Regions from separate parts of the Homo sapiens genome. Here region 2 is linked to region 1. Evidence: promoter capture Hi-C in 16 types of primary human blood cells and fetal thymus (Javierre and others, 2016). All regions are on one chromosome and are shown on one strand. Each heading gives the region's core, a stretch centred on a gene start or on the middle of the fragment in contact. The rest is flanking DNA. Distances are from core to core; before and after follow the strand shown.

What was found. The method cuts DNA at HindIII sites, captures the fragments that hold promoters and counts their contacts. A CHiCAGO score of 5 or more calls a contact.
Region 2: a contact is called between a fragment that was not itself captured here and the fragment with the promoter of FAM184B in region 1, in 1 of 17 cell types (megakaryocytes). The highest score is 5.8, in megakaryocytes.

The regions. Positions count from the first base shown.
Region 1 is chr4:17,776,309-17,783,512 of GRCh38, forward strand. It overlaps FAM184B (family with sequence similarity 184 member B), which reads right to left and starts at 5,313. Exons shown (of 18, transcript NM_015688.2): 1 at 4,851-5,313. The coding sequence starts at 4,991. The HindIII fragment of the contact is 8,098 bases long and covers 1-6,295 here.
Region 2 is chr4:17,536,602-17,543,927 of GRCh38, forward strand. No RefSeq gene overlaps it. Among named protein-coding and RNA genes, the nearest start is that of CLRN2, 25 kb to the left of the region's middle. The HindIII fragment of the contact is 685 bases long and covers 1,592-2,276 here.

The DNA of each region.
Region 1 (7,204 bases), core at 4,063-6,562:
CTACTATGTGTCAGACTTTGTACAAACTGCTGGAGAAATGGATGGATAAGTAAATGTAATTAATACACAGTTAAAAATTAATTAACAATTTTTTTTTGGAATGGAGTTTCACTCTTGTTGCCCAGGCTGGAGTGCAATGGCACGATCTCAGCCAACTGCAACCTCCGCCTCTCGGGTTCAAGCGATTCTCCTGCCTCAGCCTGCCGAGTAGCTGGGATTACAGGTATGCACCACCATGCCCAGCTAATTCTTTTCGTATTTTTAGTAGAGATGGGGTTTCTCCATGTTGGTCAGGCTGGTCTCAAACTCCCGACCTCAGGTGATCCACCTGACTCGGCCTCCCAAAGTGCTGGGATTACAGGCGTGAGCCACTGTGCCCGGCCAGTTAACACAGTCTTAATCAGAAAAGTAAGGTTTTTAAAAGGTTTTTTTTTTAGAGGAGGTGGGACTCAAAAGATAAGCAGATTTTACTTTTAGAGAGGAAGACATTTCAGGTGAGGAAACTTCAAGAGGAAAGCTAGGTGAGTGCACAGTGGAGTAAGGAAAGAATCGTACTTCCCTGTGACCTGAGAATTGGGTGCGTAGGGATGTACTAGGAGATTGTGCTGAAGTAGGCTGGATAATGTATGGTGGTACAGTCACTTCGCAAAACAATTTGGCAATTTCTTAAAGAAGTAAAAGTTATCATACAACTTAAGAATTCTGCTCCTAGGTATCTACCCAAGAACACATAAAGACTTGCACGTGAATGTAATCTTCATAGCAGCATTATTCATAAAAGCCAAAAAGTAGAAACTCAAATGTCCATCAGCTGGTGAATGGATAAATAAAACACAGCATACCCATAGAACAGGATAAATAAGTAATAAAAAGGAACGAATTAATGATATGTGTTACAATGTGGATGAATCTTAAAGAATTAGATGGAAAGAATAATTTATTATATGGTTTCATTTAGAGATAATTTAAAGAGATAGGAAGTAGATGAATGGTTGCCTGGGGCTGTTGGTGGGAACAGAAACTGACTACAAATGGCCACAAGGGAAGATTTCTTTGGGGTGATGAAAATGTCCCTAAAACTGGATTATGGTTATGGCTTAATGACTAAAACAATGTTGAACTGAACAATTAAAACAGGTGAATTTTATGGTATGTAAATTATACCTCAATAAAGCTGTAAATATTAAAAAAACTGTTAATCAAAATTAGGCAGAAAGAAAATAGGAAGCACAATCTTAGAAATAAAAAATATAATTATTGAAATTCAAAAAACTTAATAGATGGGAAAAACTCTGGATTGGACAAATTATTTAGAAGACTGGCAAATTGGAAGGCAAGGAATTCACCAGGATGCAACACAAAGACAAAATCTTTTTTTAAAAAAATAACATCTCAGGATATAGATAGTGAGGCTTCCTCACTTACCTAATGGTAGTGCCAGAAAAGATAATGGAGGTAATGGCTAGGAAGCAATATTGCAAGAGAAAATCAGTAATAATTTTCCAGAATTAAAGAAAGCATATGCACCCCTGTAATCCCAGCACTTTGGGAAGCCAAGGCGGGAGGATTGCTTGAGCTCAGGAGTCTGAGATCAGCCTGGGCAACATAGTGAGACCCTGTCTCTACAAAAAATTTTTTAAAAATTAGCTGGGCATGGTGGCTCATGCTTGTAGTCCAGCTTGAGTATGGGAGGTCAAGGTTGTAGTGAGCTTTGATCACACCACTGCACTCCAACCTGGGTGACGTAGTGAGACACTGTCTCAAAGAAAAAAAAAAAAAGTACCTCCTCCTTTTGCAGAGGATAAAGATAAACTAACACCAAGACAGTTCTAGAAAACCTGCTGGACAGTAAAAATAAACAAAACAAATCTGAAATGTTATCAAAGAGAAAAGGCAGCTTATTTATAAGGGAATGAAAATTAGATTGGCAGTAGAATTTTTAACCAGCAACACTTAGTACCAGAAGACAGTGGAGTACTATCATCAGTGTGGTGTGGGAAAATAACTGTTCACTAGAATTTTATATCCAAATAAATCATCATACAACAGTGAGGGCAAAATTAAGACATTTCCAACAATGAATTCCCTCCCATACCAAGGCACCTACAGAAAGAACTATTAAAGGATGGACTTCAGCCAGAAGAAAAGTGAACCCAAAGGGAACACTGTAGATTCAAGAAAAAGAAATAGCAGAAAAATTGATAAAATGTCATAAATTTAATTAACTTTTAACTATAAAAACTATTTTTAAATTTAAGAAGTAAAAACAGATTGAATGCGGTGGCACATGCCTGAGCTTTGGAAGGTTGAGGCGGGAGGATTGCTTGAAGCCAGGAGTTCGAGACCAGCTTGGGCAACATGGTGAGACTCTATTTCTACAAAAAATTTTTGAAAAAGAAAATATTAGCTGGGGGTGGTGGTGTGGACCTGTTCCTAGCTACTTGGGAGTCTGAGGTGGGAGGATTGCTTGAGGCCAGGAGCTTGAGGCTCCAGTCAGCCATGACTGTGCCACTACACTCCAGCCTGGGTAACAGAGCAAGACCCTGTCTCTTAAACAAACGAACAAAAAAGTAAAAATAAAACTCTAGGCAGCAATAAAAAGATGGGAAGGAAGGGGCTGTTAAATGAGTAAAATATACAAAGTTCTTTCATGGGAAGAAACAATTACATACTAACTTTGTTAGCAAAAAAATCAGAGTTAAGTATGTATGTTGAAAAAATAAAAGACGATTCTGAGAAGAATAGAAATAAAACCTAAAGCTCTCAAACCAGCAGTGGAATATGTATCACTTTACTAATCTGATAGAAGGCAAGAATGGAAGAAAAAGAAGCAAGGAGAAAGAATGGTAAATGAAAAACACAAGATCTGATGGAAGAAGAGCCCAAATATATTAGTAATCGCAATAAATCCCTGTGGATTAAATTCATCTGTCAGAGACACAACCAAAATAAAACTCATAGAAAGATTAAATATGAAGGACAATATTTCACATACAAATAGTAGCCAAAAGAATGGTGGCCTATTAATAACAAAAACTTCTAATTTAAGCAATTAGCATAAAAATGGTAAACAGACGCACTACATAAGGATCAATTGCGATTTCTAATGCAGAATATACTTTAAGAAACACTGCCTACTGTGTGCCAAGAATCATGTATGCCTTCTATACTGCTGTGTTTTCAGTGCTTGGCACATAATAGGTGTGCCATAAATATTAATGAGTGGAATGATTGCTATTTTATATTGAAATGATCTGTTTATGTGTTTGTCATACCACAAGGGCAAGACCATATCTTACTAATTGTTATGCCATCAACATTCAGCATAGCAGCTGGCACATAGTAGGAATTCCATAAGTCCACACTGAATTCAAGGATCATCTCTTCCATAAAATCTCCCCTCACTGTTCCTCCCATACTGATTTGTCCTTTGTTTCTACTTCTATAGCACTCGTAATTGGAAACACCCAATTTAGCACCCAAGACATAGTATAGTCTTCTAGCTTTCACTCAATATTTCAAATCTTGTTTCTTTAAAACTATTTTAGATTCTTTGAAGATAGAGAAGATGCCTTGCACTGTGCCAAGTGCCTTTTCAGGTACTTGAATAAATACATGTTTTGGTTGATGTCACTATTTACATGAATGTAGGTTAGATCAATAGTACCAGCTATACATGTCAAGAACGCTAAGGGCTATCTCCAGTCTCTTTTTTCATTCCTTGACCAAAGAGAGCCCTGTTTGGAGACAGGCTCACGTGCAAAGAATGTGAAGTTAATGAGACAGGTGGGAGAAGGCGGCTAGTGTTCAATTCCAAGCCCCTGTGCTCTATTCCTCCTGGCAAAATAGTGAGGTTGGCGGGACAGGGGGAGGGGAATGTCTGTGATCCCACAAAAAAATGTGTGGGAAGTGAGAGGGAGATGGTGAGGAAAGAGAGCATGTTCCAGACGCTACAGGACAGACCTGGACCTGACCTCTCCCTGGCGGGCATGGCACCAGGAGTTTATTATGAGACCGAAAGGAAACCCCAAGGCAAACAGCTAAATTCATCCACTTGAAACCTTGTATAGGAGACAGTGAGGGATGTTGTTTTCCATCTAGACAAGGCACAGAGGGGAGTCTGTGACAAGGAGCTTCTAATTGGGGAGCTGCAGAGGGTTAACAAAGAGCACTGGTGGCATCTTTTTGCTGGTCTTCTTGAAAAAGACATAGTCTGGGAAGGTTCAATCAGAGCCCCCTGCACGAGGTAAGGAGGTGGGCTGGCTGACTTCCCTAGGTCCTTCCTAATCCCATAGTTATTTGGTGAATCGTGCTCTTCCCCATTTATGCTCCTACACACGTCTGCACCCAGTTTGATAGTAAGTCCCCTAGGCTGCATTCCAGGTTTAGTACGGTGCCACGCAAGCTGCTGGCACTCAACAAATGACGCAAATATTTGTTGAATGAAGGAATAAATGGATCAAGTGTTTAAATAGAGCCCACATGACCTCCCCAGCTGTAAAGTATGGCAGTTGAATGAAATCACAACATTCTAGGCACTTGAGCAAAGCTGGCGGGGACACACACACACACACGATTCACATTCCCACCTTGGAAAAGCACAGACCACCTGCCCAGCCAGCAGGCTGTGGGAGTTTCCTTGGCAAGGATCCTCTTTCTCTGCTGCTTTAGGATGGTGCCTCTAGAAGGTCAAGTCACCCAGATTTAGGACCGCTTCCCTTCCCGGTTGGCCTCCGAGACAAAGTTTCTGTCTGGATTTGGCCCGGGCCTCCCGGGAGGCGCATCCGCACTGACTCCCGGCTCGGGCGCCCCGGGCGTGCAGCTCGCTGGCCCGCTGCGCCCCACCTTACCTTGGTGAGCTGGGCGATCTTCTTGCACATTTTCACGTGCATCTGGGGATCACAGTCCATTCTCCAGCCGGCGCCACCGTCGGCTTTGGAGCCCTGGCAAGTGCCGGGCGGGTTAATTTTGCTGTTGAGAGCAGAAGCCATCGCTAAAACGCGCCCAGCACTCAGACTCTCTCGTTTTCTCCCTGCCCACCGTGTGCACGTGCGTGCGCGCGCGGGCGTGCGAGCGTGTGGGTTTCTCGGGAGAGGTGGCACTGCAGTCCCGTCGCCTGCACCGCCGCGTGGCCCCAGCTTCCCGAAGGTCTCCGCCTCCCGGGCCCACCCGCGCGCCCACCCTTTTTCCTCTCCTGCTGGTTCTCTGGCTGGCTGGCTCCGCGGGCACCCGCACCCTGCGGCGAGGCGTCGGCGCCCCGCACGTGCCGCTGGCGATCAGTCTGCAGTTCCCCAGCCAGTGCAGGTTTCGTGTGCAAGGGGAGAGCTTCCGCGGCTAGGAGCTGCCGGCCTTGGGGGGTTTGCGGTGGGCGGGCACTGCGCTCTTGGACACGTGGGTGGCGCGCGGCCCTGGACTTGGTGGCGACGGACCCTGCCCGAGGTGGGGATCCCAGGCTAAAGAGGAAGAAGAGCCTCCGGAGAGGGACAGGGCACAGTGACTGGCGGCCTCCGGAGAGGGACAGGGCACAGTGACTGGCGGCTCCCGAGTCTCCGAGCTGATAGCGGAGATGGCGGTGGGGGACGAGATGCTAAGAGAGGGGCGGGTAGGTGAGGGCGAGCCATCGGGACTCAAGGAGGTGTGGGATCCGGGGCGCACGGTGTGGGCCAGCGCCTGAGTTGCGCGAGTGCACAGCGGGGCTGGGGATGGTAGCCTTCCTTTTTGGATCTTGGAGAGGAGCCAGGACATTGCGGGAGGAATACCGGAGATGCCCAAAGAGGAGAAGCCAAGGGGATGGCAGGGTGCGGGTGACCGAAATCTGAGATGAGAAAGTGCGAAACGGGTAATGCGGGAAGCGGTAGGAACGCAAAGACAAAGTCGTTAGGGAGGTAGAAAGGATGGTGGCAGGTGCGGGAAAGGAAGAAGCAAAGAGGAATGGAGCAGTTAGATGAGTAAAAGATGGAACTGAAAATCTTAGCAAACCGAGCCCATTGAAAGTAAAGTGAGTCGTCCAAATCCACACTACTGGCCTTGGGCAGACTGGAGCCAGACTGTCAAGTTTTCGGATTCTGAGCTGGTGTCTGTTTAGTGTTTGGTGAGGGGAGAGGTTAGCGGGCCAAATTTCTTTCTGGCGTGTTCTCTGGTTTCAGACAGTGGACTTTAAGGGAAAGTGACAGCACCGTGATCAGCTTTTCCTAAAGCTCGAATAATAGGTCTTCATGATAGTTTGCATAGTGAATGTATATCATTTATACATTGCCTTTTATCAGAAATTTTAATAATCTTCATAAACCAAGCAAGCTTCAAAGGGTCTCAGAAACCACAGTTCCACCCATCCATACTGAAGGTAACAAAACCCATTTTTGTCGATGAGGAAAATTGACCCAGAAAATTTGTACCAAGTCAGGCAATTACAAGTAGAACTGTTTCTGAAATAGACATTCCTATTCTAGATTCTGTATCAAATGACCGGCCTCGGTTTTTGATTTCTAATTTACCATCTTAAGTTCTCTTTTTAGCACAACCCCTCCCTCCCCCAGTTCCTTTAGAAAACAGAGACAAAGCCTCTGAGGATGGGGGTCAGGGGGTCAGGAATCCACATTAAACAGCTCTCTGCTTAATTCCAAATTGTGTATTTAGAATATTTTCTGCAGGATCTTAATATATACTAAATTTTACAGGAATTCAACCACTGTGTAAACTAGAGGAAAATTAGCCTTTTTGGTCAAGAACTTTACTAAAAGTTGTTGACCATTTTGGAAAATCACATCAAGGGCCAGGTGGCTCATGATATTTGGTTGCCAATACAACACACTTATTTATTTATTTTTTTTATTTTTTTGAGACAGAGTTTTGCTCTGTCACCCAGGCTGGAGTGCAGTGGCATGATCTCGGCTTACTGCAACTTCTACTTCCTGAGTTTAAGCCATTCTTGTGCCTCAGCCTCCAGAGTAGCTGGGATAACAGGCATGCACCACCACGCCCGACTAATTTTTGCATTTTTAGTAGAGATGGGGTTTCTCCATGTTGGCCAAGTTGGTCTCAAATTCCTGGCCTTGAGTGATCCTCCCACCTAGGCCTCCCAAAGTACTGGAATTACAGGTGTGAGCCACCGTGCCTGGCCACAACACACTTCTAACTGCCATATTGATGGTGAGTCTACCTATGCAAGCATCTGATTACTACACTGTGTCCCTCAGTATCAACA
Region 2 (7,326 bases), core at 684-3,183, 240 kb before region 1:
ACCAATTCAACTATATTCTGAATATATTGTATATGCATTTCTCTGATGTTCGCGGCTGAGTTCTTGGTTAAATAAAACAAATGTAAAAACATGGCATGTAATTGTTTGCTTTATTGCTTTCTGTTTTGGAAAAAATAATAAGCAACACTAACAAATGACTTTGGAACCACAGTGATTTTTCTTTTGTCATTGACCTCTTGCGGAACAATAAATTGTATATAATACATTTTTTTCTTCTAACATAACAATTCTCTCAACCTTACAGATTTCAAGGGAGTAGGAGGAAGGAGGGAGTGAAGAGGACAAAAAGAATTCTTTCTATTGAAAAGGGGATGTGGCCAGGCGCACACACTTGTAATCCTAGTACTTTGGGAGGCTGAGGCTCAGGAGTTCGAGACCAGCCTGGCTAACATGGTGAAAGCCCGTCTCTACTAAAAATACAAAAATTAGCCAGGCGTGGTAGTTCGTGCCTGTAATCCCAGCTACCCGGGAGGCTGAGGCAGGAGAATCACTGGAACCTGGGAGACAGAGGTTTCAGTGAGTCGAGATCACACCACTGTACTCCAGCTTGGGCAACAGAGTGAGACTCTATCAAAAAAAAAAAAAAAAAGAGAGAGAGAGAGATGTTTGTAAGAGGCCCACAGAAGTTCTCAGCACCAGACCAGGTGTGGTGGCTTATGCCACCGTGCGGTAGGAGGCAGGAGGGAGTGAATAGGACAAAAGGATTCTTTCTATTGAAAAGGAGATGTTTGTCTATTAATATAATCCCAGCACTTTGGGAGGCCGAGGCAAGAGGATCAGTTGAGCCCAGGAGTTTGAGACCAGCCTGGGCAACATAGGGAGACCCCATCTCTATAAAAATATATTTAAAAAAAAAAAGAAAGGAAAAAAGTTCTCAGCACTGTTGAAGAGAGAAATGAGCCATCCTCGAGTCATTCTGTCTACTCTTGTTGAAGCTTCCCTGGGTACCACAGCTTAAGTGGCCCACCTGAGAGGTGGCTCCTGATATACCAGCTGTTTATTAACTATGTCAGTAATGGTGATTTCTGACTCCAAAACAAACTACTCAAAATTTTACTTTAGTTTTGAAAAGTAGTGTTCCTATGGTGAGTAGTCAGCTGAACCATTTTAAAGGCCCACCCTTCAGGGTTTTGCTGTAGTAGGTTATTCCTTGTAATGAAAACAATTTTCTTGAAAATTAATTAATCGTGATGTTTTAAATCTTGTTTTGTAAGTATGCCTTTGTTTCTTTAAAGCCCTCATCATGAAGGCCTCGTCTCTTTTCTCAGTCATCACTATGGCAAACTTTAACAAGTTAGTTAGAATTTACAAAACTGTGGCAAAAACACTGTTAGTTACTTCAGAAAGTAAAGAATGGGAATGCATGACTTTTTCAAGTTCCCTTTACATAGCACGTTGTATGCCTTTCAGCAAAAATGAAAATAATAATAATAATACATTGAAATAGGTAATATTCCATTTATTAAAGTTATACATTCACAAAATTTGTTTCTCCTTAAATTGAAGTTAAGCTTATAAATATTATTGTTCTGTTTTTTAGGTTAGCAAATTTTAGTGATCTCTTTTTAAAAGCTTTGGTTTACCATTTGGTCCCCTTTATGAATGTACTAAATAAACATCTTGAAACAGCCTATGTAACTTAATTTATTTTCCATGCACTTCAATTAACTGACAAAATTTAATAATTCTTCTAAGTCTAATGAATTAAAGTTAAAATGCTGTGAACCTTAAGTTATCTTAAAAATTCTGGCTGGGTGCAGTGGCTCAAGCGTGTAATCCCAGCACTTCGGGAGGCCAAGGAGGGCGGATCACGAGGTCAGGAGTTTGAGACCAGCCTAGCCAACATGGTGAAACCATGTCTCTACTAAAAATACAAAAAAAAAAAAAAAAAAAAAAAAGGCTGAGTGTGGTGGCAGGCGCCTGTAATCCCGGCTACTCGGGAGGCTGAGGCAGGAGAATTGTTTGAACCTGGGAGGCGGAGGTTGCAGTCAGCCGAGATCACACCACTGCACTCTAGCCTGGGCGACAGGGCGAGACTCTGTCTCAAAAAAAAAAAAAAAAAAATTCCAGCCCTGTATATAAATAAGCAAAACATGATTCCAAATCATTAGAAATATACGGCTGTCCTGTTTCACCAGCAGACCAGCTTCTCTTTCATCACCAATACATAAAATAATAAGGAAGTACAAATTTTAAAATCAAAAATATCAATACCTTGATTTTGCTTCTTTTAAGTATTTTTGTACTTAATTCTAAGCTTTGTCAGGGCAAAAAGACACTTACTCACAAAGTAAATGATTACATCATCTCTCACAACTTTAGGAATTGCCTTCCCATCTATTTTGGGAATTGACTTCTCAGGAGGTTTGAGGTTGCGTTGTGAACTTGAGTCTCGCCTCAAATTAAACCCAGTTTAATAGTGAAGCCTGCCTTATACCTTACCACTATTGTTCATCTTTACTACCCTGCTCGACGTTTTCTTTTTGCTTATCTTTAACATGCTAGATAATTGATATTTGTGTTATACTTACTGTATACTGCCTGTCTTTCTCCATGAGAATGTCATCTCTATGAGGACAGGATTTTTTTTTTTTTTTTTTACAGAGTTTCGCTCTTGTTGCCCAGGCTGGAGTGCAATGGCACGATCTCGGCTCACTGCAACCTCCACCCCCTGGGTTCAAGTGATTCTTCTGCCTCAGCCTCCTGAGTAGCTGGGATTACAGGCATGAGCCACCACGCCTGGCTAATTTTGTATTTTTAGTAGAGATGGGGTTTCTCTATTTTGGTCAGGCTGGTCTCAAACTCCAAACCTCAGGTGATCCGCCCACCTCAACCTCCCAAAGTGCTGGGATTACAGGCATGAGCCACTGCGCCCAGCCAGGACAGGAATCTTTCTAGGGCTTTTGCTCTTTGACAGATGTTAAGCACCCAGAAACTGTTCCTAAATTATTTAGAAAATAGGCCAGGTGTGGTGGCTAATGCCTGTAATGTGCCAGTTGGAATTTTGCAATATCTATACATATGTAGGTACAGTATGTGTGTATGTACCTATATATGTATCTATACAGTGTGTAGCCTTTTCAGACTGGCTTCCTTCATTTAGTAAAATGTATTTATGTTTCTTCCATGTCTTAGTACCTTGATAGCTCATTTCTTTTTAGCACTGAATAATATTCCATTGTCTGTGTGTACCAAAGTTTATTTATCTATTTATCTACTGAAGAACATATTGCTTTCCTCCAAGCTTTAGTAATTATGAATAAAGCTGCTATAAACATCCTTGTGCAGGTTTTTTTGTGGTCATAAGTTTTCAACTTCTTTGGATAAATGTCAAGAAGTGTGATTGCTAGATGATATGGTAAAAGGATCTTAGTTTTTTAAGAAACTGCCAAACTGTCTTTCAAAGTGGCTGTACCATTTTGCATTCCCACCAGCAATGAATGAGAGTTCCTGTTGCTCCACATCCTCACCAGTATTTGGTGTCATCTCTCTTCTGGATTTTGGCCATTCTAATGGGTGTGTATGGTATTTCACCATTTTCTTCTTACAAAGAAAAAAAATCACCTATGACAGATAATAAGCCAATGCTTACTTTTTATATTAGTAATTGGATTTACAGAAGTTCAGGAAAGAAGAGGTTGGTATAGGGATTAGTGAATAAAGTTTCTTGGGAAAGGAACTAGAGCTCAACTAAAAATGTTTCATGCTGGCCAGGAGGGTTACAGGGTGCATGCCAGGCAAAGGCAGAAATGGAGACAAGCAGAGTGTGGAAGGAGAGATGAAGCCCATGTGTTCTTTAGACCAGCGGTCCCCTGCCTTTTTGGCACCAGGGAGGTTGCAGTGGTCATAAGTTTTTTTTGCGGTCATAAGTTTTCAACTTCTTTGGATAAATGTCAAGAAGTGTGATTGCTAGATGATATGGTAAAAGGATGCACAATTGGAAAAATTGTGTGTTGGGGTTGGGGGTTAGATGGTTTCAGGATGAAACTGTTCCACCTCAGATCAGGCATTAGATTCTTAAAAAGAGTGTGCAACCTAGGTCCCTCACATGCACAACTCACAATAGGGTTGGCGCTCCTGCGAGAATCTAATGTGGCCGCTAATCTGACAGGAGGTGGAGTTCAGGCAGTAATGCTTGCTGGCCCACAGCTCATCTCCTGCGGTGCAGTCTATTTGGTTCCTAACAGGCCACGGACCAGTCCCAGTCTGTGTGGCCTGGGGTTTGGGCACGCCTGCTATAGACAATGGACAGATGTACCGAAAAGAGTAGAAGGTTGTATATTGGCCGATAAATTTTGTAATACCAGCTATCTTGCAGAAAGTATTTCCCACGTGCCAGCTACTGTGCTAAACACTTTATCTGCTTTACCTGTATAATCACATTTAATTCCCATGGCATTTTTTTAACTTTTTACTTTTACATAACCTTAAACTTAGAGGAAGTTGCAAAGAGAGTACAAAAATTTCCTAAATATTCTTTAGCTAGATTCTCCAAATGTTAAAATTTTATCACATTTGGGCCAGGTTCAGTGGCTTATGCCTATAATCCCAGCACTTTGGGAGGCTGAGGCAGGAGGATCACTTGAGTCCAGGAGCTCGAGGCCAGCCTGGGCAACAAAGTGAGACCCTGTCTCCGCAAAAAATGGAGAAATTAAAAAAAAATTTTTTTTAATTAAAATTTTTATCACATATGCTTTATCATAGTCTCCCTCCTTTTTCTTTCTCTATGTGTGTTGTGCAAACATCTGTGTGCATAAATTTTTGCTGAACCATTTGCAAGTAAGTAGCCAAGGACATCTTACCACTTTACCCCTAAATATGTCCATGTATATTTTCTAAAACACAATGTACAGCAACCACTGTACGATGATGAAAACTGAGAAATCAACACTGGCATAGTTCTGTTATCTAATCTACAGATTTTATTCCAGTTTTGTCAGTGGTTCCCTTTATGTCCTTTATAGTTGTTGTTGTTTTAATATTTTCTACTGCTGCAAGGTCCAGGTTGCACTTGGTCTTCATTTCTCTTTAGCCTCCTCTATATCAGTACAATCCCTCAGTGCTTGTCATTTATGACACTGACATTTTTGAATGACATGGGACATTCTTTTTTGGATCTCCCTTAATTTGAGTTTGCCTGATGCTTTTATTTATTTATTTTTTTTGAGACGGAGTTTCGCTCTGTCGCCCAGGCTGGAGTGCAGTGGCGCGATGTCGACTCACTGCAAGCTCCGCCTCCCGGGTTCACGCCATTCTCCTGCCTCAGCCTCCCGTGTAGCTGGGACTACAGGCGCGCGCCACCATGCCCGGCTAATTTTTGTATTTTTAGTAGAGACGGGGTTTCACCGTGTTAGCCAGGATGGTCTCGATCTCCTGACCTCGTGATCCGCCCGTCTCGGCCTCCCAAAGTGCTGGGATTACAGGCGTGAGCCACTGCACCTGGCCCTGATGCTTCTTTATGATTAGATTCAGGCACGTGCTTTCTAGGCAAGAATACCTGCAAGATGACATTTTGCCCATCTCAGCGCATCTCAACAGAAAGCGTGTGATTTTTTTCTCTCCCATTGCGGATGGTGTTCACTTTAATCATCTACGAAGTAGTACTGGCAGATTTCTCCACTGTAGTTTCTACTTTTCCCATTTTAATTAGTTAGTATCTTGTTGAGAGATATTTCTCATCAAATTCTCACCATTCAAACCATGATTTTAGCATCCATTGATGATTTTCTGCCCGAATCAGTTGTTACTGTGGTGATTGCCAAATGGTTCCTTTTCTAATCCCATTATTTCTTCTAAGTTTATTGGTTGGCATTCTACTGTAGGGAAGAGCTTTCCCTTCTCTCCCACTGATTCGTACATTTATATCACTATAGACTCATGAATTCCTATTTTGTTCCATTGTTTACTCTCCATTACCATCATCATTTATTTTGATACTCAAATTATCCCAAATTTGGCTGGTGAGGGCTCTTTCCAGCCAGCTCCTGTTCTTTTGACATGCCCACAACATTATCTGAGCACTTCCTCGCCTATGGCATGGCAAGAGTCTAGGCTCATTTAGTACTTTCCCCATCCCAGCCTTGGAATCAACCTGAGAGAGCTACCGTTTTGTTGTTGTTGTTTTTTAACATGGTAGAGTTTTAAGTCAGGTACTGTCATCGTTCCTATTTTATAAATGAAAAAGAGAAACTCAGGAAGCTGGATATGTGGTTAGAGATAACAGAAGAATGAAGGCAACTCAATAACATTTTGCTACCATGCCACACAAAACCATGAGGAAAACACCATTAAAATAACAACTGGGCCATGGTAGTGATTTGGGAAGACCAATTTAACTCCCATTTGAGATTAGGGACCACTGCTCCCTCACCCTGGAGCACTGGCTAGCATGCGAACTCTTGCCAACTTCATCCTTGACAAAGAAACAGAGAAAAAAGAGAAGAGGCCATCAGCAGCTGCTGCAGTACCTGCTAGAAAACCAAATGCACTCCACACTGGTGTTTAATTGTCAAACAGACAATGGAAATTTGATTGCACTGAATTTTGAATATCTTCAATTTTAAGATTTATCAGAAATACACTGTCTGGGTTTTCAAAAATAAATATTTATTATCATTGGTGAATGTGATGTATCCTTGCTGGATTTTTACTATGTGAAAATACATTTTGTATTGTTTATTGAAAATGTAATAAATTGATGCAATAAGACAATTTTTAAAAAAGAATCCTCTTTTCCCAATACCCCCAGCATTTTTGACAGCTTTATTGAGCTAGAATTTTTACAGCATAAATTTCAGCTATTTAAAATGTACAACTCAAGTAGTTTTCAGTATATTTACAGAATTGTGCAATGTCACCACGTTTTTAGAACATTTTTATTACCCAAAAAAGAAACCTTCTGCCCATTGGTAATCACTCTTCATTCTCTTCCCCATGCAGCCCTAGGCAACCACTAATCTACTTTTTGTCTCTATGAATTTGCCTGTGCTAGATATTTCATAGAAGTGAAATTATACCAGATATGGTTATTGTATAACCAATGACTGGTTTCTTTTACTTAGCCTAGTGTTTTCAAGGTTCATCCATGTTGTGGCATAATATCTCAACATTTTAACTTTTGTTTTTTTTGAGATGGAGTCTTGCTATGTTGCCCAGGCTGGAGTGCAGTGGTGCTATCTCGGCTCACTGCAAGCTCTGCCTCCTGGGTTCACGCCATTCTCCTGCCTCAGCCTCCCAAGTAGCTGGGACTACAGGCACCTGCCACCACGCCTGGCTAATTTTTTTTTTTTTTTGTATTTTTAGTAG